Regions from separate parts of the Homo sapiens genome. Here all the other regions are linked to region 3. The links are contacts of gene promoters, found by promoter capture Hi-C in blood cells and fetal thymus (Javierre and others, 2016). All regions are on one chromosome and are shown on one strand. The core of a region is centred on a gene start or on the middle of the fragment in contact, and the rest is flanking DNA. Distances in the headings are between cores, read along the strand shown. Region 1 overlaps ATP8B1 (ATPase phospholipid transporting 8B1). Region 2 overlaps FECH (ferrochelatase). Region 3 holds the start of NEDD4L (NEDD4 like E3 ubiquitin protein ligase). Region 4 overlaps ALPK2 (alpha kinase 2). Region 5 overlaps NEDD4L (NEDD4 like E3 ubiquitin protein ligase). Region 6 overlaps ATP8B1-AS1 (ATP8B1 antisense RNA 1).

Region 1 (4,559 bases), core at 2,038-4,537, 370 kb after region 3:
ACAGAAGCACTCACTTATATATACAGTGCAATGTTCAGAACCAGAAAATTTAACACAGTACAATATTATCTAATCAATAGACTTTATCAGATTTTACCAGGGAGGTTCATTCTTTGTTTTTCTGGTCCAGGATCCAATCTAAGATCACAGGTTATATTAGGTGATCATGACTCTGAGTCAAGGACGGTTCAATCTCTTTTTGATCTTTCATCCATTGATATTTTTAAAAAGCACAGGCTGGTTATTTTATAGGCTATCCCTCCATTTGCGTTTGTCTGATGTTCCCTCATGATTAGAGCTAGGTTACACATTGTTGGCAGGAAGAGTCCGTAAGTGATGCTGTGCTTTTCTTTAAGTATCACATCAGAAGGTGTATACACACACACACATTTATATTTATATATATATACATATATTTATATATGTATATTTATATATACATGTATTTATATATGTGTGTATATATGTAGATATATGTATGTATATATGTGTATATACATGTTATATATATATATATATATATATATATATATATATATATATATATACTTTTTTTTTTTTTTTTTTTGAGACAGAGTTTCACTCTTGCTGCCCAGGCTGAAGTGCAATGGTGCTATCTCGGCTCACTGCAACCTCTACCTCCCTGGTTCAAGTGATTCTCCTGCCTCAGCCTTCTGAGTAGCTGGGATTACAGGCATGTGCCACCATGCCTGGTTAATTTTGTATTTTTAGTAGAAACAAGGTTTCTCCATGTTGGTCAGGCTGGTCTCCAACTGCCGACCTCAGGTGACTGGCCCGCCTTGGCCTCCCAGAGTGCTGGGATTACAGGCGTGAGCCACCCTGCCTAGCCAGAAGGTATATATTATTGGTTTGTCTCATTAATGGGGATGTTAACTTTGATCACTTGGTTAAGGTGGTATCTACAAGCCTTCTCCACTATGATTGAATTTTTAACCAATAAAAATATACAGGTTTAACTATTACACCCTCCTTAGGCACACTTACTGAACGCTTTCTGTGTCCCTTACACAGATCTAGACTGATTATCATGCTTGCCATCTACCTTGATTTAAAATCTGGTTAACAGTGAGGGATGTATTACAATTATTGCATTAATCAAAAAACCCAAAAAAAATGGTCATTAGGAGTGGTGTTGTGGTCGAAGTATTAAAAGCAGTAAGTGTTGTGAGTTCATAGGTGAGAAACTACCTGTTGGTTGGATGGAGAAAAAGTCTACAAAAGAAAGTAACTAGAACATGGCATAGCACATGGTAGGGAGTCAGTAAATATTTGTTGGAAGAATAACTGAGGTTATAAAAAACAGAGCTGACTGTGAAGGAATCTTTTTATATTTATTTCACTATTACATTCAATGTAGATAATGACTTACCAGTTTTGTTGAAGGCAACACTTTTCTAGAGGAACTGATGGTTTTAAGCTAACAGTGAATTATGAGATAGTAACATTTCAAATTAACTTTATAAATGTAGTTTTCTATTAAAAAATCAAACTTAGCTGGGTGTGGTAACTCACATCTGTAATCCCAGCATTTTGGGAGGCTGAGGCAGGAGGATTGCTTGAGCCCAGGAGTTCAAGACCAGCCTGGGTAACATAGTGAGACCTCCAATGTCTATAAAAATAAAAATTAGCCAGGCATGGTGGCATGCACCTGTAGTCCCAGCTACTCGGGAGGCTGAGATGGGAGGATTGCTTGAGCCTGGGGGGTCGAGGCTACAGTGAGCCGATACTGAACTGCTGCACTCCAGCCTGGACAACAGAGCAAGACCCTGTCTCAAAAAATATATATATAAAAAATCAAACTTTGTTGTGTTTATTTCCTTCTTTTACTACCAGTAAGAACCCCAGAAGGCAATATCAAGCTTTACTGTAAAGGTGCTGACACTGTTATTTATGAACGGTTACATCGAATGAATCCTACTAAGCAAGAAACACAGGATGCCCTGGATGTAAGTTTCACTTTTATTCTTTCTGCAAGGGATTCTGAACTTACTCTCTGATGCTGTCTGTTAAGTTTGCATGAAAGCTGTATGTTAACTGCTGACCCTCCCTTTGCTTTGCAATAGTTGGGGTGGAAAGAGCAGTAAAGTAGGAATACAGCCACCTGGGTCCCAGTTCTGCCCCTGCCACTGACTTCCTGGGATATCACCATGGTGCCCTCTCCCAGCATGTGGGTCTTCAAGGTCTATAGGACTGAGGCAGGGGAATGGCTTAGCTCTCTTCCAGTGGCCTTGAGCAAGCTACATAACCATACTAGGTTGTAGTCTTACTATGTGTGTGGTCCCCAAGACCTCCACTAACTTCAAGTTGTAGTGCAAAGGAAGGAAAGCATTCATATGTGACAGGATGACAGAGCTGACTATAGGTCACATCTTGTCTAGCCAAGATGGCAGAAGCGGTTCAACTGATTGAGTATTTGGTGTCTCATGCCTGTAGTCCCAGCACTTTGGGAGGCCAAGGCGGGTGTATCACCTGAGGTCAGGAGTTCAAGACCAGCCTGGCCAACGTGGTGAAACCCCGTCTCCACTAAAAATACAAAAAAATTAACTGGGTGTGGTGGTGGGCACCTGTAATCCCAGCTACTTGGGAAGCTGAGGCAGGAGAATCGCTTGAACCCCAGAGGGAGGGGGTAGAGTGAGCCGAGATCGTACCATTGCACTCCAGCCTGGGCGACAAGAGCAAAACTTGGTCAAAATAAAAAAGATGTGACTATAAAGTAATGAGATGTTTACTGGTTCATGTTGAAACTGTTTAAAATGTTTAAATCAGGCTGGGTGCAGTAGCTCACGCCTGTAATCCCAGTACTTTGGGAGGGTGAGGTGGCAGATCACGAGGTTAACAGATCGAGACCATCCTGGCCAACATGGTGAAACCCCGTCTCTACCAAAAATACAAAGATTAGCCAGATGCAGTGGCACCCGCCTGTAATCCCAGCTACTCAGGAGGCTGAGGCAGGAGAATGGCGTGAACCAGGGAGGCAGAGGTTGCAGTGAACCGAGATCGCACCACTGCACTCAAGCCTGGGCGATAGAGTGAGACTTCATCTCAAAAAAAAAAAAAAGAAAAAGAAAAAGAAAAAAAAAGAAAATGTTTGAATCGTTCATCATGGGAAAATTGCCAGATACTCTTTTCCATTAAAAGCTTTGACCTCAGCTTTAACAATGGCTTGTGTATTTTAGAATTGGTTTGAGGGAATAATGCTTAGTGGAGAGTTCATAGGTGATTGGACTTGTATCACAGTTTGTTGGAACAAGTTATAAAGTTGTCAGGTTCGTGCTTATGTCATTACACCCCAAGGCAGCTCCCTTGGTCTGATATTTTCCTAGTCATGAAGAGAAAAAGAGAAAATGAGAAAATGAGAAAGGTAATAGAAGATTTAGAAGAAAGGTAAGCTTTTCCCTTTGGAAACTGGAAGTGCAGTCCTGGACCCTATAGAAGTTTAGAAAAGCAAAGTCTATTATAAAGTGATGTTTAGGCTGGGTGCAGTGGCTCATGCCTGTAATCCCAGCACGCTGGGAGGCTGAGTTGGGCAGATCACATGAGCTCGTGAGTTCAAGACCAGCATGATGAAACCCCATCTCTACAAAAAAAAGTACAAAAATTACCAGGCGTGGTGGTGCACACCTGTAGTCCCAGCTACTTGGGAGGCTGAGGTGAGAGGATGGCTTCAGCCTGGAAGGCAGAGGTTGCAGTGAGCCGGGATTGCATCACTGCATCCCAGCCTGGATGATAAAGCCAGACCTTGTCTCAAAAAAAAAAAAAGTGACATTTAATCCCCTCTCTAAAGTGTATTTGTACAGAATCTGTCATGTTTAATGATCTCTTTTTAAATTCTGTTAGTATATTACTTCAAAGTAAAATTTCAGACTTGATCCTGAATTACATAAATTAACTATTCTTTGCATTGGTGGATTTATTTTTTTAAATAAAACAGATCTTTGCAAATGAAACTCTTAGAACCCTATGCCTTTGCTACAAGGAAATTGAAGAAAAAGAATTTACAGAATGGAATAAAAAGTTTATGGCTGCCAGTGTGGCCTCCACCAACCGGGACGAAGCTCTGGATAAAGTATATGAGGAGATTGAAAAAGACTTAATTGTGAGTTTTAGCCTTAATAACTTTTTCTTTGATATTCTAAGCAGAATTGAAATTTTTATTAAGTTTTATTGAATATTTGATCTCATGCTTAAGAGATAATTGTAACTTCAGCATTTGACACTGGCACAATGGAAGAAGGTTATTTCTTTTATTCACCAAAATAGGAGCAGAACAGAAGTTGCCATTATGAGAAACCAAAAGACAAAATACATTAGGAGAAGTTCTAATTTAATTCCATAATTTGTATATCACTTATTAAAATTTATTATAATTTTTAAACAATAACAAACCTGCATCTAATACTTATTACATTGGGGGAATTACCGAAACAATTCATATTCTGCAAAATCTTGAAATAAGAAAAATATATTGTTTCTAAAAGTTTTCCAAATTTAATACATAGTTTTTGTAGGGTTTAGATAAGTGGAAAATATTCAACAAA
Region 2 (4,285 bases), core at 947-3,446, 470 kb after region 3:
AGCCTCCCGAGTAGCTGGGATTACAGGCACATACCACCACGCCTGGCTAATTTTTGTATTTTTAGTAGAGACGGGAATTCACTATGTTAGCCAGGCTGGTCTCAAACTCCTGACTTCAAGTGATCCGCCCGCCTTGGCCTTCCAAAGTGCTGGGATTACAGGCATGAGCCTGTAATTTTATTTTTTTTTTGAGAGGGAGTCTTGCTCTTTCACCCAGGCTGGAGTGCAGTGACTTGATCTTGGCTCACTGCAACCTACACCTCCCAAGTTCAAGCCATTCTCCTGCCTCAGCCTCCCAAGTAACTGGGATTACAGGTGCATGCCACCACACCCAGCTGATTTTGCATTTTTAGTAGAGATGGGGTTTCACCATGTTGGCCAGGCTGGTCTCGAACTCCTGACTTCAAGTGATCCACCCACCTTGGCCTCCCAAAGTGCTGAGATTACAGGCGTGAGCCACCGTTTTTATTTTGAGGAGTGTAGCTCTGTCACCCAGGCTGGAGTGCGGTGGTGTGATCATGGCTCACTGCATCCTTGAACTCCTGGGCTTAAGTGATCCTCCTGTCTCAGCCTCCCAAGTAGCTAGGACTACAGGTGCACACCACCACACCCAGCTAATTAAAACAAATTTTTTTTCTTGTAAAGATGGGGGTCTCATTTTGCTGCCGAGGCTGGTTTTGAACTCTTGGCTTCCAGCAGTTCTGCCATGGCTTCCCAAAGTGCTGGTATTACAGGCATGAGCCATGAGCCACGAGCCACCGTGCCTGGCCAGAACCAAAATTTTCTTATTGTGTGTTTATTGTTTTTTGCTATATGATCATGGGTATGATGACTGAGTGCTGTGTAACCTGAGGTTAGTTGGGGATGGGCATTAGATACCTTCTTCATCTGGCAGCCTGCCAAGCAGGGCCCATTCCATTTCTCCTTGCCCCTCCCAGCCCCTCTCCCCACCTCAGCCATATGCACTGAGGGTTGGGATTTGATAGAAACTGAAGAACTGATTCAGTTTGGAATCCTAGAAGAAAAATTATTTCATTTGTGTGTTTTTCTAGCAGCAACTCATTAATATAAGTAGGCTTAATATTATTAAAATTAAATGAAAGTCTTTAAATTCTACTAAGTAACTTTAGATCATATTTATATAAAATAAATGGGATCATTTTAGAGAATACGGATAGGCAACAAAAAAAACCTTAAAACATTATGAATAATCTTACCACCCAATATTTTGTCTCTCTCTGTCTTCTTAAAAAAAAAATAGAGACGAGGTCTTACTGTGTTGCTCAGGCTTGTCTTGAACTCTTGGGGTCAAGCAGTCCTCCTGCCTCAACCTCCCAGAGTGCTGGGATTACAGGTGTGAGCGACCAGCCAGGCCAATTTTGTCTGTATGACTATTAAATATTCACTCTGTATGTATTTAGCAAGATGTGACCGTACTGTACATCATATATTTATAATGCCCTCTTTTTATTTACTTTATCATCATAAATACTTGTCTATATTATTTTAGTAACTGAAGAGTATTTTATTAAGTCATAAACTACCTTGACCAACATTCTGGGACACGTAGGTGATTTCTAGTTTTTTAATATTAGAAATGGTGAAGCAGTGAGTGTCTTTGTGGATTCTTCTGATGGCAGTCATTATGAAGGCATTGTGCTGCTTAATGCTTGGGCTGGACTAGACTGCAATACTAGAGTAGACACTACACTAGGCCAGGGGTTGACATTAGTTCTGTAAAGGGTTAGGTAGTAAATTTTTCAGGCTTTGTAGGCCAAACTCTGTCTTTTGCTGCTATTCAACTCCGCTGTTGTAGTGTGAGAGCAGCCATAGATATTACATAAACAATGAGGGGAGCTGTGTTCCAGTAAAACTTTATTTACAAAAACAGGCAGTAGGGGTGTATGTGTGTATACAGATTTAGTGCATGGGCTATAGTTCACCAAATTCTGTTCTAGAGGCATCATAGACCCACAGGCCAATCATGTCTTAGAGGTTTAATGAAGAGCTGGGATCGTATTACTTTTTCTTGAGGCTGACCATATAGAGTAGAATAGAATTATTGTTTATTAATTGACAAGCTTAAGTTTCTGTTACGTACATTTAATATTTCACGGAAAAACCTTGTATTTTGAGAGTCCTGGGATATAAAAATGGCAAAATGTTGAAACCTTTCCAAGTGAGAAGTTTTAAATATATTTTGCTGTATACACTTTTATATTCAAACAAACGGAACATGAACGTTCAGACCTTGGTCTCAGGTGTGTTCTGTCTGGAGGGAGAGGAGATGGAGACCCTTGACTAAAGCTTTCACTTCACATTCTGGAATAGAGGGGTGTCAGACTGGGGCTTACTAATGCGCTATTCATCATGCACAACACAGTTTTGAATTAAGTGCATGTGTATTTAGGTATTTTCAAGTCGTGTGCATCTCTTTCATGTGTAAGATCAACATGCGTTTGCAAAACCATGAGCAGGGCAGAGTAGCATCCCCTTTAAAGCCACTCTTGTTCTGAGCTCAGGTGTTATAGATGAAAAACAGCTCTAAATCCCGTTTGCACACTGATACCGTCTGTGGCTTAGGTAAGTCTTTTAGCCTGAGGTTTTTTTAACCAGTAATCTGTTAACTGGCAGCAATCCATGGGAAAATGCACTTAATTTATTGTGAGTCACAGATTTTGAAGGTGAAAGACAGGATCCCAGGAGAAGACTAGTGGTCTAAGTAGAAAGATTAAACGAATATTAGTTTCACAAAATAATGCATCTGGAATTTTCAAATATCAAGGAAAGAAAACTCAACACACCCGTTAATGCAGTTGTAGGACTCGAGCATGGAAGAGTTATATAACAACCACATCTTCAGTGCAGTTGCTTGGTTGTTTTAGAAGGGGATTAAGCCCTCTTTCTCTAAGACAGTGATTCTCAATAGGGGGAAGGGGGCATTTTTGCCTCCTGGGACAAATTTGGCAATGGCTGGAGACATTTTTGGTTGTCACACTGGGGTGGGGTGTGTGCTATTATTGTGTACAGGTAGAGGCCAGGTATGCTGCCAAGGCTCCTGCATTGCACAGGGCCGTCCTCTACAACAAAGGACTCTCCAGCCCCAAACGTCAGTAGTGCTGAGGTTGAAAAACCCCGGTTGAAGGCATTGATGTGAAAAGGGACCTTAGTTAATCTTTATAATGGGGTCTAAATGAGAAAATCCCTGATCTCATTGTAATGCCATATTTCTCCTTCCCCAGGAATTGATTCGTATTCTGAAAAAGTAGGTTGAGAATTCAGATTTTTACCTCATCCACTTATACAACAGGTTTGATCAAGAAAACAGTTTCTACCTGTTTACATTTGACATACCCTGCTGCCTTACGTTATTGCCAAATGTTGTTAATAATTGTTTAAAAATTGCCCATTAAGATGTCACCATAAGCCTGGGGCAATGGCTCACACCTGTAATCTCAGCACTTTGGGAGCCTGAGCCAGGAGTTTGAGACCAGTCGGGGCCACATGGCGAGACTCTGTCTATATAAAAAATTTTAAAAGTAGCCAGGCATGGAGGCATGTGCCTGTGGTCCCAGCTACTCAGGAGGCCGAAGCGGGAGGATCACTTGAGCCCGGGAGGTCGAGGATGCAGTGAGCTTTGTTTGTGCAACTGCACTCCAGCCTGGGTGACAGAGTGAGACCCTGTCTCAAAAAAAAACAAAAACAAAAAAGATGTCATCATAGTATCTTTAGTTTTCGAGCACATAAAGAATGTTTCTCTATACAGGCTCTGTCTCAGCAGCATTGGTTTAGTCACTGCAGTGGTCAGAGGTAGTCTGGTGTAGGAGATTCAGGAAGTAGACCCCTCAGCGTTCATAATAACGGTGTTTAGATAAACTTCAGGCTGGTTATTTTTCAGCTGCTTTATTGAAAGTGAATAGAGGGTATAACCATATAATGAAATATTATTTAGCAATAAAGAGGAGTGAAGTGTACTGATTCATGCTACGACACGTAGCATGAACATTTTATGCTGAGTAAAACCAGACACAATCATGAACATTTTATGCTGAGTAAAACCAGACACAATCATGTGATTCCATTTCTATGAAGTGTCCTGAATAGGCAAATCTATAGACCCAGAAAGTAGATTACTGGTTGCCAGGGGTGAGAGGGGAGGGAACAGGGAGTGGCTTTAATGGATACGAAGATTCTTTGTGGGGTAAAGATGTCCTGGAGTTAGATAGTCGTGATGGTTTCCTGCCTTTCCTTATGTATTAGAAACCTCTGAATTGTTCAGATTATG
Region 3 (4,498 bases), core at 1,863-4,362:
TTTCAACAATCTCAAATCAAAATACGAATCTACTTTTAAGAAATGTGGTAGGTATGTGTGTCTACTTTGCTAAAAGATTTATGAGGTCACTCTTCTAAATAGCGGTCAAAATATCTTCATATGTGATATTCTGCAGCACACCAAGTCTGCAAACTAAGTGTACCCATATTTAATACGCCTTGGAAGAACAACCCTGCCGTTTGCTTCAGCGGGCATTCTACTTTCAGAGCCTGCTAAAATCTTCCATTGGTTTTTCTTACACATACTAATTCAGGGAGACAAAACAAGCTGTGCAAATTCAACAATTTGTCGTTAATATTCTACGAAGGCATTCCCTGATTCTCTGAAGGGCAACGTGACAGCATGAAACTGCCCATGAAAAACAAATACCAATGAAATGTGAAGTCATCAGAACTGCCCTGGCTTATTTTTTCACTGGTAGGAGAAAGTTGAAAAAGGAAGACGGCTGAGACTCATCTTGTGAAATACAATGTGTGTGGAACTAAATACTACCAGCGACATGGCAATAAATAGATAATAAAAGGTGTCTTCATCACCTCTTGCTATTTCCTATACAGCCCCAAATTCCCTTCTAGCAACATGCAGGAGTGAATCCAGTCACATGCCAACACACACTCGGACTCTGTTTACATTCCAAGCTTCACTTTCACACTAGACATCAGTTATGATGATTAGTAGTGACTCCTGTGGACAAAAGTGGCAAGATGTGCTCTAGGTAGATTCTGACACTCACTGCCAATGTAAATAAAGCACAAACAACAGTGACATTAACGTGTTTCATTTATCCAGCTGCACTTCCCAAAACACTCTTAAAATCGTTTTTTCGGGGGAGTTTTTACAAATAATCATGTTATTAAAACATTTTTTAAAAGAACCTAGGATGAAATGCAGCTGTCCTCACCCCCACCCCCCACAATACGTCAACCCAAGCAGCCCCTTTGTTTAGGAATGTCTGCGTCTCTGCAACTCAGGGCCTGCCCTCTACTGCCACTAATTAAATGGAGAAGTAGAGGATGCAAGGGAAAGCTCCTCAAAGAGAGAAGCCAGGAGGGAGAGGAGAAGCCCCCCGGGTCAATGAAACAATGCTACTGTCACCTATCCCCAGGTAGTTACACAAAACGGGAAATTATTTTACAAAAGCACAGCGAGGCAAAATAAACACACAAATCACACATTATTTGCACTGTGATCATTCTTTGATCAAATAAATACATCAAGCTTTGCCTAGCACCGCTAAGAAAAAAATTCATACCCTAAACACCCTTCCCACCCCAAAATACCTTTCATTCCACACTTACGTAGCACACAGGCACACACACACACCATGCCAGGGTAGGAGAGCCGCAGAAAGCGGAGCCATAACGCGAGCCTGTCTCAGATAATAGCCTTTCTTCCAACCCCACCCCCAACACGAGAGAAAGAGGGAACCTCTGAAAAGAAAGGAGGGAGGGGAAGAAAGAGAAATCGAGAACGCCTGAATTTCCAGGCATCAACTTTTCATGAAATGCACAACCAGGATAGGAAATACCTCCCTGCTGAGTAATGCTTCTTGGGTTGTAAAATTCACCTCTCGAAAGGGGAGCCAGACCTGAGCGCGCACCCCGCCAGATGGCAAACCACTCCTACCTGCTCCATCCAGCCTGCCTGTCACGCCGCGCCCGCGACAAGCGTCCCACCCCCCTTTTTGGCAGAGCAACATACCAATAAGAGCCGAGCGTGGCTGGTCGAGAGAGGACTAGGCAGTGATTTAGCAGGATTGTTTCAAAAGGGGGGAGTGGGAGACACGGAAGAGAGAATGAAGGTAAAAACAAAGCCCTTTCCAGTGAAACCGACCGCCTGGGAGGCGTGGCTTATTCAGTCGCTTTATTAATAAAAGAGATCAATTAAGCTTTCCTCTCCCCACCCACCCTGGAGGTGCCGGGCTTTGAATCCTCGGGAGGAAAAAATGGCAGGGCTGCAAGCTTCCTCCCCAAGTTTCCAGGAGCACCTGCCACCAGCCTTGAACACCTCCCCCACCGAGGCTCCGAAATCCACAATCCTGGCCGTAGACTTTGCAAAACGAGGGGAGGGACACACGCAGCGTGTCCCCCATTCCCGCCGGGATAAGCACGCACAGGCTTCTGAGCGCCTGCTGATCCACACAATCATGAGAGAGAAAGTTCCAGGGGGAAACGATCCGGCTTCTCCGCAGTCCCGGGTCTCCAGCCGCGCGACCCAGACGTGACATGCATCATGGACTCCCGGGCTGCAGGGGCGAGAGGCGGAAAGTTGCCCAACAGCCCCGGGAGACGCTGCTTGGAGAGGAAGAGGGAAGAGAGGCACGCATGCCCCCTCCCTCTCCTCCCGAAAGCGAGGAGCTGCGGAGTGAACCCCCAGCTCCAAGGGCGTCGCGCCGCTTTATTTACAAACAATGAGCTCGGCTTGCGGAGGGTGGGGGGTGCGGAAGGACCCAAGCTCCCCTGGATCCCGCTCCGGGGCGCTCCCGCTTTGGGGCTCCCCTGCAGACGCTGGGCACGAGCACCCCGGGGACGGCCCCTTTCCCCTCCCCCTGCCGGCGCGGGATAGGAACTCCCCGGGGAGTCCCGAGCAGGAAGGGGGTGCCACTCACCTCGTCTTCGGAAAGTCCATAGACCGGCTCCCCGAGCCCGGTCGCCATGGAGCCGGCGCCCCGCGCGGGGTCTGAGGCGCTCCCAGCGGCTGTGCTGCGGCGCGGACGGCCGGTTCTCCCCTCTGCCTCCAGGTCCCCCCGGTCCCGCACCCTACCCTGCGCACGCCCTGCCGGGTAAGCGGCCGGGCGCCGGCAGGTGAGGGTGCCCGAGAGCGCGCCCTGGACGCTGCCGGCACCGCTTCCTCCCGGAAGGCTGCGGGACCAGCGGGCGGGCGGCTCCCGAGAGCGCGCCGAGCACCGGGCGGCAGCCCCGGCGCCTCTCACTGCGCGCGGCGGCGGCGCAGACCCGGCCGGGCTTTCCCTCCCCGCGACCCGCGCCTCCCTCCCGCCCCGCCGCTCTCCGCCCCCCTCCGAGCCTCCTCTGCGCTCCCGGGGACCCGGCTCGCCCGCCTCCTCGCTAGCGCCGTCCGGGCCCCCGCTCTCTCCGCCCCCTCCTCCGCCTCCTCCCACCGGCGCCGCGAGGGTACCCTCCCCGTTCGCCGGGGCGGGCACACGCGCCCCCCAAGCCAATCACAGGCCGGGCTGGCGAGCGGGCCGCGGGCTGCGGGGGTGGCGGAGTTCAGCCCCACGCCCACCCCGGCCCGGGGCCTCCAGCGCGGCGCGGCGGGGGTCACCCGGCCGCGGGGCGGATCCGCAGGGGCGTGTACTGGCGCGCTTGGCCGGCGCCGCCGACCCTCCCTCCTCTCCCGGTTTCCCTCCGCTTTAGGGAGGGGGCGGGCTGGACGTTTGGGGGCGATAGAGGATTTTGCGAACAATAACAAAAACGCCCTGAGCGTTTCTTCCTCCCGGTGGTCTTTTTACCGAGAGCCCTGAGCTCGCTGTTAACTGTGAAAAGGGGAAAAGATGGATGTTTCTAGACCCCTTTAAATTCTTTGCGGCCCCGACGAGCAGGACTTGGCTACATTGTCAGCTCCCGGGAGCGAGCCGCCCGGCCCGGCTGCCAGCCGAGGAGAGGCTGCCCCAGTGTGGCCGCAAGTCGCCATTGCCTGTGTCAACCTTGCAGGGAACAAAACCAACATAGCGCCCGCCCCGGTTACACACCCACCCACGCGAAAACAGACAGCATGGTTCTTTGAATAAAAAGCAGTTCATTTGTGAGCCGCAACGTGAAATATCAAACTCAAGCTTAAGGTTATCCTTTGCATATGCAAATGATCGAGACGTCTTATTAGCCACCGTAGGATTCTTCCCACCACCCAGCTACCGTTTCTCTAGCAAGCAGTTCATTTAATCCTTCCGATTTATAGGACTGCAAGAGACTACTTTAAATAAGTGAAAGAAATTCGTCAGTCGACTTTTTCGGAAGCCTTTCCTTAAATTTAGATGTTAAGTGCAGTTGGGAGTTCAAAAAGAAAACAGACGCAGAACATTCCATTTGCCTTTGAAAAGGAAACGTCAAAGTGCCTACTTGGGTATTACCAGGATGCATTTAGGATTTTCATTCAAGGAAGTTCAGAGAGAACTCGCGTGACCCGAAGGAATCATATTCCTCGTTGCCAGCTACATAACTAAATATCTGCTGTTCGCCCTGCTAGTTCGTTTTCAAAAGAGCCCACCCATGCTACCTTAAGCTCTCCTTTGCCTTCCTGCAGCATGACTGGCTTAAAACCTGTGCCGTAGAATGGGTTTCCTTTGACGACTTAGCCCCATGGAGTCAACATCCTACTCAGAAGCCTTCTCTAGAAGTCTTGAGCCGTCAAGTCCACAGTACTTACAGGCCACAAAACCCCCAATGAGAACTATTTATGGAGGACTATTTAAAAGTCAGATTTCTGTCCATTCTTTCAATACTGAGGTTTTTCAACCCTT
Region 4 (4,367 bases), core at 1,852-4,351, 460 kb before region 3:
TAATTAAAAAAAAATTTTTTTTTTGTAGAGACAGCGTCCTGGACGGTTTCCCAGGCTGGTCTCGAACTACTGGGCTCTAGCGATCCTCCCACACTGGCCTCCAAAAGTGTTGGGATTACAGGCGTCAGCCACTGTGTCTAGAGGTCATTTCGTTTCAATAATTCATGCCAATAATGCCTTCCCATTACAACAGGTAACCAGAGATTGGCTTTACTGTTCTATCCTCAATAGGCCTAAACTCAGCAATATATTCTCAAATCCAGATCTACCATAAGGTAAATTAAGATGTAGTACTTCATTCTCTATAGGCAAAAGAGTCTTTAGAATGCTTTAGATTTTAAGCTTCTCTGCTGAATGTATAGCATGTTTTCAATGTATACACAATTGTTTAGGAATACCATTTCTTCTATGGAATGGAGATGTCATCGTTAGGGTTCCCCTAAGACAGACCTGAGACAGGTACTCACATACAAATGGCTTATTTGAGAGGGGATCCCAGGAAACGCCAGTAGAGGAGTAGGGAAGTGCAACTGGGGAAGGAAAGGCGACTGGTAGAGTATATTATTAGCCAGTGACTGCCGTGGGCGCTGGAGCTGACATCTGCAGGGAGCCCTGCAAAGCACACTTCTCAGTGAGGGAGCCGGAGTGTGTATACACCAACTACCAGGATCACCAGCTGGCGGCTGCTCTGGGTGGGGGCATTACCTCCCTTGCACTTGTCACCTGCCCACATGGGCAAGCTAAGCCGGATAAAAAACATGATCAGAGAAAGTTCTTAAGCAGAGAAATGCTGGTGTGGCACTAAGAGGTGGAGCCAGGTGCACAGAAGTGGTTGGGGTGTGGGCAATAGGTAAGGCACCAGCAGCTTCTGCTGCAAGGGGTTTCCTATTTCTGTTTGCTGTTAAGAAAATCTGAACTATATTATTTTCTGCCTACCAAATGTCAGATATTGTCCCAGATGAGGATCTCAAGCTCTAGCTATTACATGGTGTTGAAGAGCAAGACCACCTTGGGGTTCTGTTCCCTGCACTGCCACTTCCAGCCTGGTAGCCTGTGGGCAAATTACCTTTCTCAGTGCTTCAGTAACTTCCACACAGAGTTGTTTTGAGAATTAAATGAGATAGTAAAGCGCTTATTGCAGCATTGCCACATAATAAATGGTTCCTATTTCTTTTAACCCATTTTTTTTTATTTGTTTGAGACAGGGTGTCACTCTGTCACCCAGGCTGGAGTGCAGTGGCGCAAACACAGCTCACTGCAGCCTCAACCTCCTGGACTCAAGTGACCCTCCTGCCTCATCCTGCCATGTAGCTGGGACTACGGGAGTATGCCATCACACTTGGCTAATTTTTTCTTTCCTTTTTTTTTTCTTTGTGTGTGTGTGTGTGTGTGTGTGTGTGTGTGTGTGTGTGTGTGTGGAGATGGGGTTTCACTTTGTTGCTCAGGCTGGTCTTGAACTCCTGGACTCAGGTGATCTTCCTGCCTTGGCCTCCCAAAGTGCTGGGATTAGAGGTATGAGCCACTGTGCCCCAGCCTTTATTCTGAAATAATTATAGACTCACAAGGATTTGTAAAAATATATGGAGTGATTCCCACGTATGCTTCACCAGCTTCACCTAATGGTGACATCTCACATAACTATAGTACATTATCAAAACCAAGAGATTGACATTGGCAGAATATAATCAACTACACTAGAAACTTGACTTGGATTTCATCAGTTTTTGTATCCATTCATTTTTTTCTATTATTTTTACTTAATCTTCATAATAACCCTGCAGAGAAGATAGATATTATGATCCCCATTTTACAGAAGAGAAAACTGAGGCCTGGAGACCGTGATTGTCTCTGTCTGCTGTCACTCAGCTAGTAAGTAGAGGGGTCCAAGACTCCAACCCGCATTTTCTGACTCTGAATTCCAAGTTCTTTCCACAAATAACAATTTAGCAAATTTGCAAGATATTTACTTCCAGACCTTTCCAAGTCTCTCCTGATGTTAGAGGGCTCTGGTATGTGTACGGTTCTTCCTCCTAAGCCCTTGGAAGGACTCCTTGCAAGCCAGCTGGGAAATGCAACATTACCGCCTTGCAGATGAAGCCAATCTGCAAATTTAAGTCAGACTTCACTCTTTGAAGAGACTTTGCTGCCACACACACACAAAACATATGGTCTTAACAGACAGCTGTTTGTTCTATTTAGACTCTGGCTGTGCAATTGCTGCTGTCCCCCATCTTTTCTCCTTGCGAATTAATTTTGTATTAAATTCAGCTCTCATGCTGAAAAGCAGCACCCAGGGCTTCATGCACAGTTAGTTTCACTTCCAGGTACTAGTAAACAACAGTAATGGAATATCACATCTCTCTGTAAATGACGTGTGTGGTTTAACGTGGTGGTGTGGCATTAAGTAATGGTGTTTATTTACTCTCTGTTGATGGACAAAAAATATTTTTACTGTCATTGTCATTGTGGCATGAGATAGCGCATCTATTCTCTAAGGAAACTCCACTTTTTATAATTTTACAGAGACACTGGAATTAGAATTAAACTCAAATTCTATCACCACCCTTTTGGACTTTTAAAAGTTAATTCTTCCTGGCTGCATTTGCTCATTTAGAAGATTATGCCAGGTCCTGCAGGTTTGTGGGGTAAAAGATGAGCCTGTGATTTGGACCTGAGACCTGCATGCTGGTGAGACTACCACGCCTTCTAACAAGCTGTCACCCAAAAAACTCAAGACCTTGAATTCTGGAGAATGAGCTTTTTTTTTTTTTTTAATTTTTTTGTATTTTTTAGTAGAGACGGGGTTTCACCATGTTGGCCAGGCTGGTCTGAACTCCTGACCTCAAGCGATCCACCTGCCTGGGCCTCCCAAAGTGCCGGGATTACAGGCATGAGCCACTGTGCCCAGCCAAGTGGAGAATGAACTTCTAATGCTGTTCATTTCCTTTCTTCTGTTAGAAACAACCTGTAGATTACTGTTATCTCCAACTCAGCTTGATAGCTGCACACTAGGATTTAACTTTAGACTCTAGAGATTCCTAGTAACCTTGACATAATTGCTGGCAAATCATTAAACTGACAGGGGGAAGTTTTCTTTTAAAAATTATATTCTGTCTTTCTAAACTGTAAGTGACAGCTGGTAATTGTGGGAAACAAGGGAAAGCAATTCTCCAAGTTCAAGGACCTTTTGCCAAATGACTTTTTCAAATTGGACTTCCATACGGCTTAGAGCTGTAATTTTAAAATACAATTTTCCATGAAACAAGATGTCCAGAGACAGCGTTTGCAATTTGGTGGGTTTTTTTTTTTTTTTTCAAAGCATAGTCCCTGCAATAAAAGCTATGTGAAGCATTTCTACATATGTTTGAGTTATTAGCGGCTTTGAAAGAATGAGATGAATTAGTTACCAACTGCGAAAGAGACTTTTAAAATGGTCACTGGTTCTCCCAAAGTGCCATGTCTAATTTAGCTCACAGGTGCACTGCAGAAAAGCAGGCCTCATGGCTTCTGTCTGCCTAACCAGCCTGAATCCCAACACGTCCTTTGTTTTTGCCATGCTCCCAGCAGATAACGCTGAATCCGAGCATTAATCCTTTAGCTGTCTTTTCCTGGGCCTCAGAAACAGCACTCCACTTGGGTGGGGAACCACGGAAGTAGGTGGCCAGCAGATCTGATCCTCATGGCTGGCTTTAGGGGGATGCTGAGTTTTTTTCTTTCCACAGCCCAAACTGGTTTCTAGGCTGCCAGGGCCCTCCATGGGCAAGTCACGTGCTGGAGGTGGGGAATGCCAGTGCTCACAGCCCGGCCCATGGAGCCCAAGAGGCAGGGGCAAGAGCACAGGAGGCAGGACCCAGGCATCTAGCAGGTGCAGACACACTGGTGGGGTGGCACTATGGGCCATGGGATAAAATGTCATCACTAGATTGCACGGGTAAGGTCCTGGCAGAGGTCCACTGCGTTGGAGCAAGTGCCCATAACCCTCACCCTAAGGAGACAGGAATGGAATTGGTGCGTGGTCAGGGCATGCAGATTCTGGAAAGGTCAAGAGGGAATCCACACTCTGGGCATCAGGGAAGTGCTTTACTTTCCACTAGACCTGAGAGAGGTTCAGGATGCAGGCTGAGACTGGGGGTAGAGTGAGAGAGGGTGGCTCTTTCCACTACAGAAGGGGATGGCAGCTCTTATCCTCCCTCACAGTGGAAAACAGTGGGATAGTCTATTCCCTTTGCCTCCCTGGCTCCCTAGCTACCCTCCCTACCCCTCCTGCTGGAAAGGCACATGCAAAAAAGGGTTCCATATGCTTGCAATGGGTGCCTATTGCTTTTTGCTGAACCAGAGTGGGAAGCTCAGGTAGCTGTTCTACTGTT
Region 5 (4,569 bases), core at 2,063-4,562, 280 kb before region 3:
AAAATTAGCCGAGTGTGGTGATGCGTGCCTGTAGTCCCAGCTACTCAGGAGGCTGAGGCAGGAGAATCACTTGAGCCCAGGAGGCAGAGGTTGCAGTGAGCTGAGAGATCATGTCACTGTACTCTAGCCAGGGCAGCAGAGTGAGACTCCATCTCAAAACAAAACAAAACAAAAAAAAAAAGAAAAAAGAAAACTTTTTTTTTTGCAGTAAATTATAGGCAATCATACTTTGGGGGAAATACTAGTCAGAGGCTTTTAGTGTACAAGTTTAAATGCCAAAAATTTTTTCAGGGAAAACTCTCACAGATACTTTCAATAAGATAACATATCCCATTAACAAAAATTATGTCACAAGTCAGTATCTCAAAAGTTGAAATCGTCATTTCAGACTAACTGAAATATAGTACTTATCAAGAACACTCATTATAGACTCTTTCTAAAACACAAATTTTAAAGTTTTCTCACACATTCTGAAATGAACTTATACTGTATCCCAATAAAGGGCCTGCTAGCAGAGGTTGTGGTGGAAACTCTTTTTCCTTAACTAACTTTCCTCTTGCCTTCTAGAAGTTATGCCCATTGGAAGGAGGCGCTCCTCAGGTTCTGCCAAGTTCTGCTGTGTCCTTCCTGGCTCAGCCTCTCCCTTTGGCATTGCTGCCTCCTTGATGGGGCAGTTATGCCTCTGCCTTCTCCCAAAACTACATGTGAGCCCGAACTTGGATTAAGAACTGCATTTTTCAGCCGGGCGTGGTGGGTCATACCTGTAATCCTAGCACTTTGGGAGGCTGAGGTGGGCGGATCACCTGAGGTCAGGAGTTTGAAACCAGCTTGACCAAGCCAGTGAAACCCCATCTTCACAAAAATACAAACATTAGCTGGGCATGGCGGCGGGCGCCTGTAATCCCAGCTACTCAGGAGGCCAAGGCAGGAGAATCGCTTGAACCTGGGAGGCGGAGGTTGCAGTGAGCCGAGATGGTGCCACTGTGGGTGACAGAGTGAGACTCTGTCTCAAACAACAACAGAAAAAGAACTGCATTTTTCCCTTGTTGCTCTAGACTAGTGAAGAGCCAGCAAGTTATACCTTTTGTTTTAGTTTCTGGGACACTGCCACCAAAGATGGTTTCTCTTTTAAATCACTTTATTGAGGTCTAATCAACACATTAAAAAGCTGTTCATGTTTAACGTACACCTCTTGATGAGTGTGGGGACATGTCTACACCTGTGGAGCCATCAAAAAAATAGTATATATTTTAAAATGTATGAAGTGTTTTCTCAAGAATTCCCTCGTTAGTTTCACAACTCTGTGAGGCAGAGAAAGTAGCAATTATCCCTATTTGTCCCCAAAATACAAACTCTAATCTGCATGATCCTTATTTATGAAGTTGAATATTTTTCCATATACATATTAGCTATCAGGATTTTTTCCTTTGTGAGTTGCTCCTGGCCACTTTTCTGCAGAGGTCGCATGAGGATCTACCTTTTCAGTACTCCTTTCTCATGCTGTTGAGCAAAGGTAGGTAATGGTGCTTTGCTTAGGATATTGCTACCAAGATTCTTCTAGTCACTACATGTAACCAAGCCCAAGGTGGGTCCAAATTCATTTTTACTACAAATAGCTACAATGGATTACAATAATTCTAATAGCTATGGGCATTAATCAAAAGGAAATAGTAAGCAATAATATAAAAAACAAAAAGAATCAACCAAGCTATTTCCATGGGAAAAAACTTTAACAAAAGATAGTTCAGCATTACCCAGCTGATCTGATATTTTTGCTGTCCTGAGACCATTTTGCTGTCCTGAGCTAATGCCCGTGCTGGGTAGTCTAAAGCTGATCACGAACAGCTGACATTCACGAGAACCCACCTGGGGGCTCAGAGAAGACAGGCTATTCGTTGTTCCAGATTCTGCAAGCTTTATCTCTAAATTAAACAAAACCTAGACCAGAAAACTTGGCCACCCTCCCCACCCACAGTCATATGTGGAGTATCTTTACAATTTCTAAAGATAAAAGGTTTTTAAGAACATGATACCTCATACTGCTTGTTGTCTAAAATGTATCATTAGCCACTTTCTTTCAGAGTTCGAGTAGACAAGAAAATTATACTACCCAGTAGACTTGCTTTTATTACATACTGAAAGTTGTATAGTTCATTGATAATTTCCTCCTTGTCTTGGCTGCTAGGCAGCTCATAATTTCTAGGATAAAATTCCTTTTCCTTAAGACTTTCTTTTTGCCCTTCGATGTATTATCAATAGACTTAGATCTTGCTGTATAAAATGATTTAAAAACAAGCTGCTACAAAACCATTTTTAAAGTCCATGAGTTTTAACCAGTGTTTATTTGCTATCAATCAAACCACAAATTGCTGAGGGAACAAAACAGGAATTGGTTTACTGCATCCCTGAGGCTGGTGAGGGATTAAAATACACAGTAATTACTAATTCTGATTTTGCAACTCTCCCATGTGTTTCTGATTATATTAAGGGGCTCAAATTTCCTTAAAGAAAAAAAAATTTTTGAGGTTTCCAAATCAATGCATTGAAGAGAGTAAACATCCAAAAACTTAGAGAAAACAGAAAATTGCAAAGCCAATTTGCTTGCCGGTTCTGTTCTGGGTCAGTTGGGAGAGAAAGGTGAAGAAGAAAACAATATAATCAACAAATGTAAAATAAGTCTAAGAAAAACAACCTCTGCTTTGTATTTCAGGAATCGACATAAAAGAAGACATAGAAAATAAATCAGCTCATATTGAAAACAGCAGCATGTGACTCAAAGGCAATCGCTTACAATATACAAGTTCTGACTGCTCTTGCATGCTTTACGTAAATGGAGAGGAATCTCGTACCACACCACCATCTGCTCTTATAGACATATGATTTATTTCCCAGCCTTGTCCCAAAGGGCCGCCATATTTGTCCCTAGCTGTGCAGTGCACGTGCACGTGTTCCTGACCATCACACGGTACTCACATCAGGCTTGGTCTGTGCCACTGAGTGGTCCGGTTGTTGTGGTTGACATAGTAAGTTCGGCCTAAATTGTCCACTTTTTCTTCCCACCCGGGAGGCAGAGGAGGAGGAGGAAGTTCCTCTTGGTGCTGAGAAGCCGAGTCATTTGAGTCAACAACTTCCCATCCATGCTGCGGAATAAAGTTAAAGGGACGATTATGAGGTTGGTTCTTCGGCTGTGAGTAAGAGGTCATCACAGCATGCCCTGCATGCCCTTCTCCTTGCTCTGGGGCTCTCTGGCTCTAGCCATGGCTTCGGGGCCACATTTGAGTAAATTCCCAAATGAAGGCCAAAAAAATATATATATATCAATTCTAGAAAGGCCTCAAAAATCTTCTGAGTAATGGCCAATTAATTGTGCTGCCCTCTAAGATGACTACATTGCAGGACAACACAATTTGGATCTGCACAGTCGGTGACACTACTTAAGTCACATCATACTCTTTCCATACGTCATGTTTGTTATTTTGACTGGAGGGCCTCCAAGGCTGTACAAAGCCCTGCCAATGATGTGCGTCACAGTACAGCTGCCATCTTTTCAACACCTCTATGAGGTAAAGGGAGCAGGGAAGATGAGCTGCGCTGCACCTGTGTTCTAACAGAACTCATGGCACAGGGGACCAGAGGCCCAGAGTCCTGTTGCTCCCCAGGGAGGTGGGCTTTGAGAGAGAAGCCTCCTCTTTGCATCCCAAACAACCGCAGGAGCCAGGAGTCTGGAAGCTGCTGCCTTCTACTCAGGCCCTCTACACTGGCTGTGTCCACACCAACGGGTTTCATGGTACCAAAATTCGAGTTCCATTTTTACAGCACGTATTTTAGGCATTACGTATTCCCTTCCTAACATCCTCTGCTAAAATCACTGGAAAATTAAGTAATTCACTGGTTACTGCGGTTGGAAGGCAAGAAGAGTGTAAAAAATTCCTTGGATTTGAGATGAAAATCTGTTGACATGCTTATGAAATGTTAACATTCATAAATTTCTATCACCCACATTATTCCTCTTCATGTATATAGAGAGATGAAGGCTTGTAAATGAAATAATGCCTGGAAATATGATCTCTCAGGCGGAGGAGTGTTCGGGTAACTTCTCCACACACATTATTCACATATCACATATATGCAACAGCTGCAAACAGATGTGAGAATAAGCCCTAGAGAGGTCTCGTTTAATGGACACTTTGAGAATATGAGAATTTGCCTAACAAAACAGCACTGGCCGAGGTGTGTGCTGAAAAGGTACGATAGGACCCACAGCATCAGTCTGTGACAAGGTAAATACAGGCGGCTCTGTCAGGAAGGAAAAAAGGGACATTCCTCTGGTCAGCTCGTTGCAGAATGGCATTTCTAGAGGAGGGTTTTTCTACTGCAGGCTGTCACCTGTGGCCAAATGAGTAAGAAACTTGAAAAAAAAGTGATTTTCTAAATTCCTCCACCCACTTTGAAGCGACCTCAATGGCTAAAAAGAATTTACAAAGAGTTGCAAGTCCATAGCAATAATAGGATTCAATGTGTGAGGAGACTTTCACAGAGCTGTGGGGCTAAAATTGGGGAATAGGCATG
Region 6 (4,346 bases), core at 200-2,699, 400 kb after region 3:
AAATCTTTGAAAAGTATGATCTTCTAAAGTATTTAAATTGGCTTTTGTTGTTGTTGTTATTTTTAAGAATAGGGTATGTGACAGAAGAATCTAGTCCCACAAGGTTTCTAGAGGAATGTAGGGGTCCTTTAGTAGTGAGAAAGTCGGGGACAGGGAAACTAAGTGTTAGGGAAGAAGTGATGGAGAAAGGGAAACTAAGTGTTAGGGAAAAGGTGATGGAGAAAAGGTGATCAGGACCGGGCACTGTGGCTCACGCCTGTAATCCCAGTACTTTGGAAGGCTGAGGCAGGAGAATCACTTGAGGCCAGGAGTTTGAGACCAGCCTGGGCAACATAGCAAGACTCTGTCTTTTCAAAAAAAAACATCTCAGTGTAGTGGCATGTGCCTGTAGTCCCTGCTGCTTGGGAGGCTTAGGTGGGAGGATCACTTGAGCCCAGGAGTTTGAGGCTGCAGTGAGCTACGATTATGCCACTGTACTGAAGCCTGGGTGAGAGCAAGACTCTGTCTCTAAAAGAATTAAAAAGGTGGCCAGACTTTAGAGACAGAGGGGTAAAGATTTAGAGTTAGGGAGATCAGCCAGGCATGGTGGCTCATGCCTATAATCCCAGCACTTTAGGAGGCTGAGGTGGGCGGGTCACTTGAGGCCAGGAGTTTGAGACCAGTCTGGCCAACATGGCGAAACCCCGTCTCTACTAAAAATACAAAAATTAGCCGGGTGAGGTGGTGCACACCTGTAATCCCAGCTACTCTGGCAGCTGAGGCAGGAGAATTGCTGGAACCCAGGAAGCAGAGGTTGCAGTGAGCCATGATTGTGCTACTGTTCTCCAGCCTGGGCAATGGAGTGAGACTCTCTCCAAAAAAAAAAAAAAAAAAAAGGAAGATTGAGTCTGGGTTTTTCCAACTGACCTCAACTCTTTAGCCAGAATGAAAGGAAAGGTAACCCTCAACCAAAAGTAAGGACTGGGGCTGGGCACGGTGGCTTGTACCTGTAATCCCAGCACTTTGGGAGGCCAAGGTGGTGGGTCACCTGAGGTTAGGAGTTCGAGACCAGCATGGCCAACATGGTGAAACCCCATCTCTACTAAGAATAAAAAAAAGCAGCCAGGCATGGTGGTGCACACCTGTAATCCTAGCTACTTGGGAAGCTGAGGCAGGAGAATCACTTGAACCTGGGAGGTGGAGGTTGCAGCGGGCTGAGATTGTGACACTGCACTCCAGCCTGGGTGACAGCGAGACTCCGTCTCAAAAAACAAAACAAAAAAAGTAAGGGGTGAGAAGTGAGCAGATAGTCCTAGAAATACATGACGAATCGTTGGCAGAAAAATGAGCAAAGAGGAGTGAGTGAGGAAGTGAGTGGCAAACCTGGGGTTTGAGGCTGTGGGAGTCTGACGAGGCTGTGGGAGTCTGACCAGGCTGTGGGACAGACAGCTCTTGGACGCAAGGGAAGCTGTGACCCCACTAAGAAGGTTCTCTCTGCGTCGAGATGGGAGACTCTTTGGGAGGCAAAATTAGCAGCAGGTGATAGAAAAGTATCAGTCTTGGGGTGCTTGGGCTGGGAGGAGATGGGCAAATTATTAGCCTCTGCAATAGAAATGGCAGAAAAATTGAGCAGACCTGGGAGATCATCCCTAAAAAAATAAAGGTCACTTTTTCCTGCAATATACTACTGTATTTAAGTTGTTTGAGGGATAAATGTTTTTAATCAAAGAGCACCACCTAAAGGTTCTTAGTCATGTTCAGCACTAGAAACTGCTCAGTAACAACATCTGATGGGAATAAAATGATTCTTGAGAGACTTCAATGTGATAGCAAAATGTACCCTAATGGAATCTAAATATATTTTAACAATTGCTGCCTTCATGTGATGTGAATGAAACTTAGGAAAATTGTCAGCTTCTAAAAGTCCTGCTAGAAAGTTAGGGCTGCGCTACAACTTCTGGGGCATTTATAAAAATAAAAAGGCCTGTTAAAACACTGAAAACAACACAACGTAGATCTCAGGACAAAGTGGAGGTTGGGGCCCTTAAAAATAACCACTGTAATGCAATCATTTTCTTTCTGCTAAAAAATACAGTAAAGGCTGGGTGCAGTGGCTCATACCTGTAATCCCAGCACTTTGGGAGGCCCAGGCGGGCAGATCACCTGAGGCCGGGAGTTCAAGACCAGCCTGACCAACATGGAGAAATCCGTCTCTACTAAAAATAAAAATTAGCGGAGTGTGGTGGCGCACGTCTGTAATTCCAGCTACTGGGGAGGCTGAGGCAGGAGAATCGCTTGAACCCGGTGAGAGGTGACAGCGTGCTGGCAGCCCTCACAGCCCTCGATCGCTCTCGGCGCCTCCTCGGCCTTGGCGCCTACTCTGGCGGTGCTTGAGGAGCCCTTCAGCCCACCGCTGCACTGTGGGAGCCCCTTTCTGGGCTGGCCAAGGCCGGAGCCGGCTCCCTCAGCTTGCGGGAAGGTGTGGAGGGAGAGGCGTGGTCGGGAACCCGGGCTGCACGCGGTGCTTGCGGGCCAGCGTGAGTTCTGGGTAGGCGTGGGTGTCCGCGGGCCCCACGCTCCAGCAGCCAGTGGGCCCCGCCAGCCCGGGCAGTGAGGGGCTTAGCACCTGGGCCAGCAGCTGCTATGCTTGACTTCTCCCTGGGCCTTAGCTGCCTCCCCGCGGGGCAGGGCTCGGGACCTGCAGCCTGCCATGCCTGAGCCTCCCCCACACGGTGGGCTCCTGCGAGGCCCAAGCCTCCCTGACCAGCACCACCCCCTGCTCCACAGCGCCCAGTCCCATCGACCACCCAAGGGCTGAGGAGTGCAGGTGCAGGGTGCGGGACTGGCAGGCAGCTCCACCTGCGGCCCTGGTGCAGGATCCACTGGGTGAAGCCAGCTGGGCTCCTGAGTCTAGTGGGGACTTGGAGAACCTTTATGTCTAGCTAAGGGATTGTAAATACACCAATCAGCGCTCTGTATCTAGCTCAAGGTTTGTAAACACACCAATCAGCACCCTGTGTCTAGCTCAGGGTTTGTGAATGCACCAATCCACACTCTATCTGGCTACTCTGGTGGGGACTTGGAGAACCTTTATGTCTAGCTAACGGATTGTAAATACACCAATCGGCACCCTGTATCTAGCTTAAGGTTTGTAAACACACCAATCAGCACCCTGTGTCTAGCTCAGGGTTTGTGAATGCACCAATCGACACTCTATATCTAGCTACTCTGGTGGGGACTTGGAGAACCTTTGTGTAGACGCTCTGTATCTAGCTAATCTAGTGGGGATGTGGAGAACTTTTGTGTCTAGCTCAGGGATTGTAAACGCACCAATCAGCACCCTGTCAAAACAGACCAATCAGCTCTCTGTAAAATGGACCAATCAGCTCTCTGTAAAATGGACCAATCAGCAGGATGTGGGTGGGGCCAGATAAGAGAATAAAAGCAGGCTGCCCGAGCCAGCGGAGGCAATCCACTGGGGTCCCCTTCCACACTGTGGGAGCTTTGTTCTTTCATCTTTGCAATAAATCTTGTCACTGCTCACTCTTTGGGTCCACACTGCCTCTATGAGCTGTAACACTCACCGTGAAGGTCTGAAGCTTCACTCCTGAAGCTAGCGAGACCACAAACCCACCAGAAGGAACGAACAACTCCAGACGCGCCACGTTAACGGCTGTAACACTCACCGTGAAGGTCTGAAGCTTCACTCCTGAAGCTAGCGAGACCACGAACCCACCAGAAGGAACGAACAACTCCACACGCGCCACCTTCACGGCTGTAACACTCACCGTGAAGGTCTGAAGCTTCACTCCTGAAGCTAGCGAGACCACGAACCCACCGGAAGGAACGAACAACTGCAGACGCGCCACCTTAACGGCTGTAACACTCACCGTGAAGGTCTGAAGCTTCACTCCTGAAGCTAGCGAGACCACGAACCCACCGGAAGGAACGAACAACTCCACACGCGCCACCTTAACGGCTGTAACACTCACCGTGAAGGTCTGAAGCTTCACTCCTGAAGCTAGCGAGACCACGAACCCACCGGAAGGAACGAACAACTCCACACGCGCCACCTTAACGGCTGTAACACTCACCGTGAAGGTCTGAAGCTTCACTCCTGAAGCTAGCGAGACCACGAACCCACCGGAAGGAACGAACAACTCCACACGCGCCACCTTAACGGCTGTAACACTCACCGTGAAGGTCTGAAGCTTCACTCCTGAAGCTAGCGAGACCACGAACCCACCGGAAGGAACGAACAACTCCAGACGCGCCACCTTAACAGCTGTAACACTCACCACGAAGGTCTGCAGCTTCACTCCTGAAGCCAGCGAGACCATGAACCCACCAGAAGGAAGAAACTCCGA

The links. Contacts are between HindIII fragments. The CHiCAGO score rates a contact against its expected background, and 5 or more counts as called.
Region 1: a fragment that was not itself captured here is called in contact with the fragment with the promoter of NEDD4L in region 3 in 2 of 17 cell types (erythroblasts and megakaryocytes); the score reaches 7.4 in erythroblasts.
Region 2: a contact is called between a fragment that was not itself captured here and the fragment with the promoter of NEDD4L in region 3, in 1 of 17 cell types (erythroblasts). The highest score is 5.1, in erythroblasts.
Region 4: a fragment that was not itself captured here is called in contact with the fragment with the promoter of NEDD4L in region 3 in 1 of 17 cell types (endothelial precursors); the score reaches 5.2 in endothelial precursors.
Region 5: a fragment that was not itself captured here is called in contact with the fragment with the promoter of NEDD4L in region 3 in 2 of 17 cell types (endothelial precursors and M1 macrophages); the score reaches 7.7 in endothelial precursors.
Region 6: a contact is called between a fragment that was not itself captured here and the fragment with the promoter of NEDD4L in region 3, in 4 of 17 cell types (megakaryocytes, erythroblasts, M2 macrophages and 1 more). The highest score is 17.3, in megakaryocytes.

What each region holds. Positions count from the first base shown.
Region 1 is chr18:57,668,876-57,673,434 of GRCh38, reverse strand. ATP8B1 (ATPase phospholipid transporting 8B1) reads left to right here. Exons shown (of 28, transcript NM_001374385.1): 17 at 1,855-1,967; 18 at 3,953-4,117. ATP8B1-AS1 (ATP8B1 antisense RNA 1) reads right to left here. Exons shown (of 3, transcript NR_164148.1): 3 at 4,152-4,559. Among named protein-coding and RNA genes, the nearest start is that of ATP8B1-AS1, 41 kb to the right of the region's middle. The HindIII fragment of the contact is 251 bases long and covers 3,162-3,412 here.
Region 2 is chr18:57,574,864-57,579,148 of GRCh38, reverse strand. All of the region lies in intron 2 of FECH (ferrochelatase), which reads left to right. Among named protein-coding and RNA genes, the nearest start is that of FECH, 9.7 kb to the left of the region's middle. The HindIII fragment of the contact is 226 bases long and covers 2,084-2,309 here.
Region 3 is chr18:58,042,840-58,047,337 of GRCh38, reverse strand. It overlaps NEDD4L (NEDD4 like E3 ubiquitin protein ligase), which reads right to left and starts at 3,112. Exons shown (of 31, transcript NM_001144967.3): 1 at 2,630-3,112. The coding sequence starts at 2,677. RefSeq lists silencers at 2,478-3,027, 3,048-3,417. The HindIII fragment of the contact is 1,832 bases long and covers 1,985-3,816 here.
Region 4 is chr18:58,499,186-58,503,552 of GRCh38, reverse strand. The region is part of intron 11 of ALPK2 (alpha kinase 2); the gene reads left to right. Among named protein-coding and RNA genes, the nearest start is that of MIR3591, 50 kb to the right of the region's middle. The HindIII fragment of the contact is 5,513 bases long and covers 345-4,367 here.
Region 5 is chr18:58,323,567-58,328,135 of GRCh38, reverse strand. NEDD4L (NEDD4 like E3 ubiquitin protein ligase) reads right to left here. Exons shown (of 31, transcript NM_001144967.3): 9 at 2,974-3,140. Among named protein-coding and RNA genes, the nearest start is that of MIR122HG, 120 kb to the left of the region's middle. The HindIII fragment of the contact is 2,791 bases long and covers 1,917-4,569 here.
Region 6 is chr18:57,642,117-57,646,462 of GRCh38, reverse strand. All of the region lies in intron 2 of ATP8B1-AS1 (ATP8B1 antisense RNA 1), which reads right to left. It overlaps ATP8B1 (ATPase phospholipid transporting 8B1), which reads left to right. Exons shown (of 28, transcript NM_001374385.1): 28 at 1-37. Among named protein-coding and RNA genes, the nearest start is that of ATP8B1-AS1, 14 kb to the right of the region's middle. RefSeq lists enhancers at 1,945-2,455, 2,456-2,967. The HindIII fragment of the contact is 4,262 bases long and covers 1-3,580 here.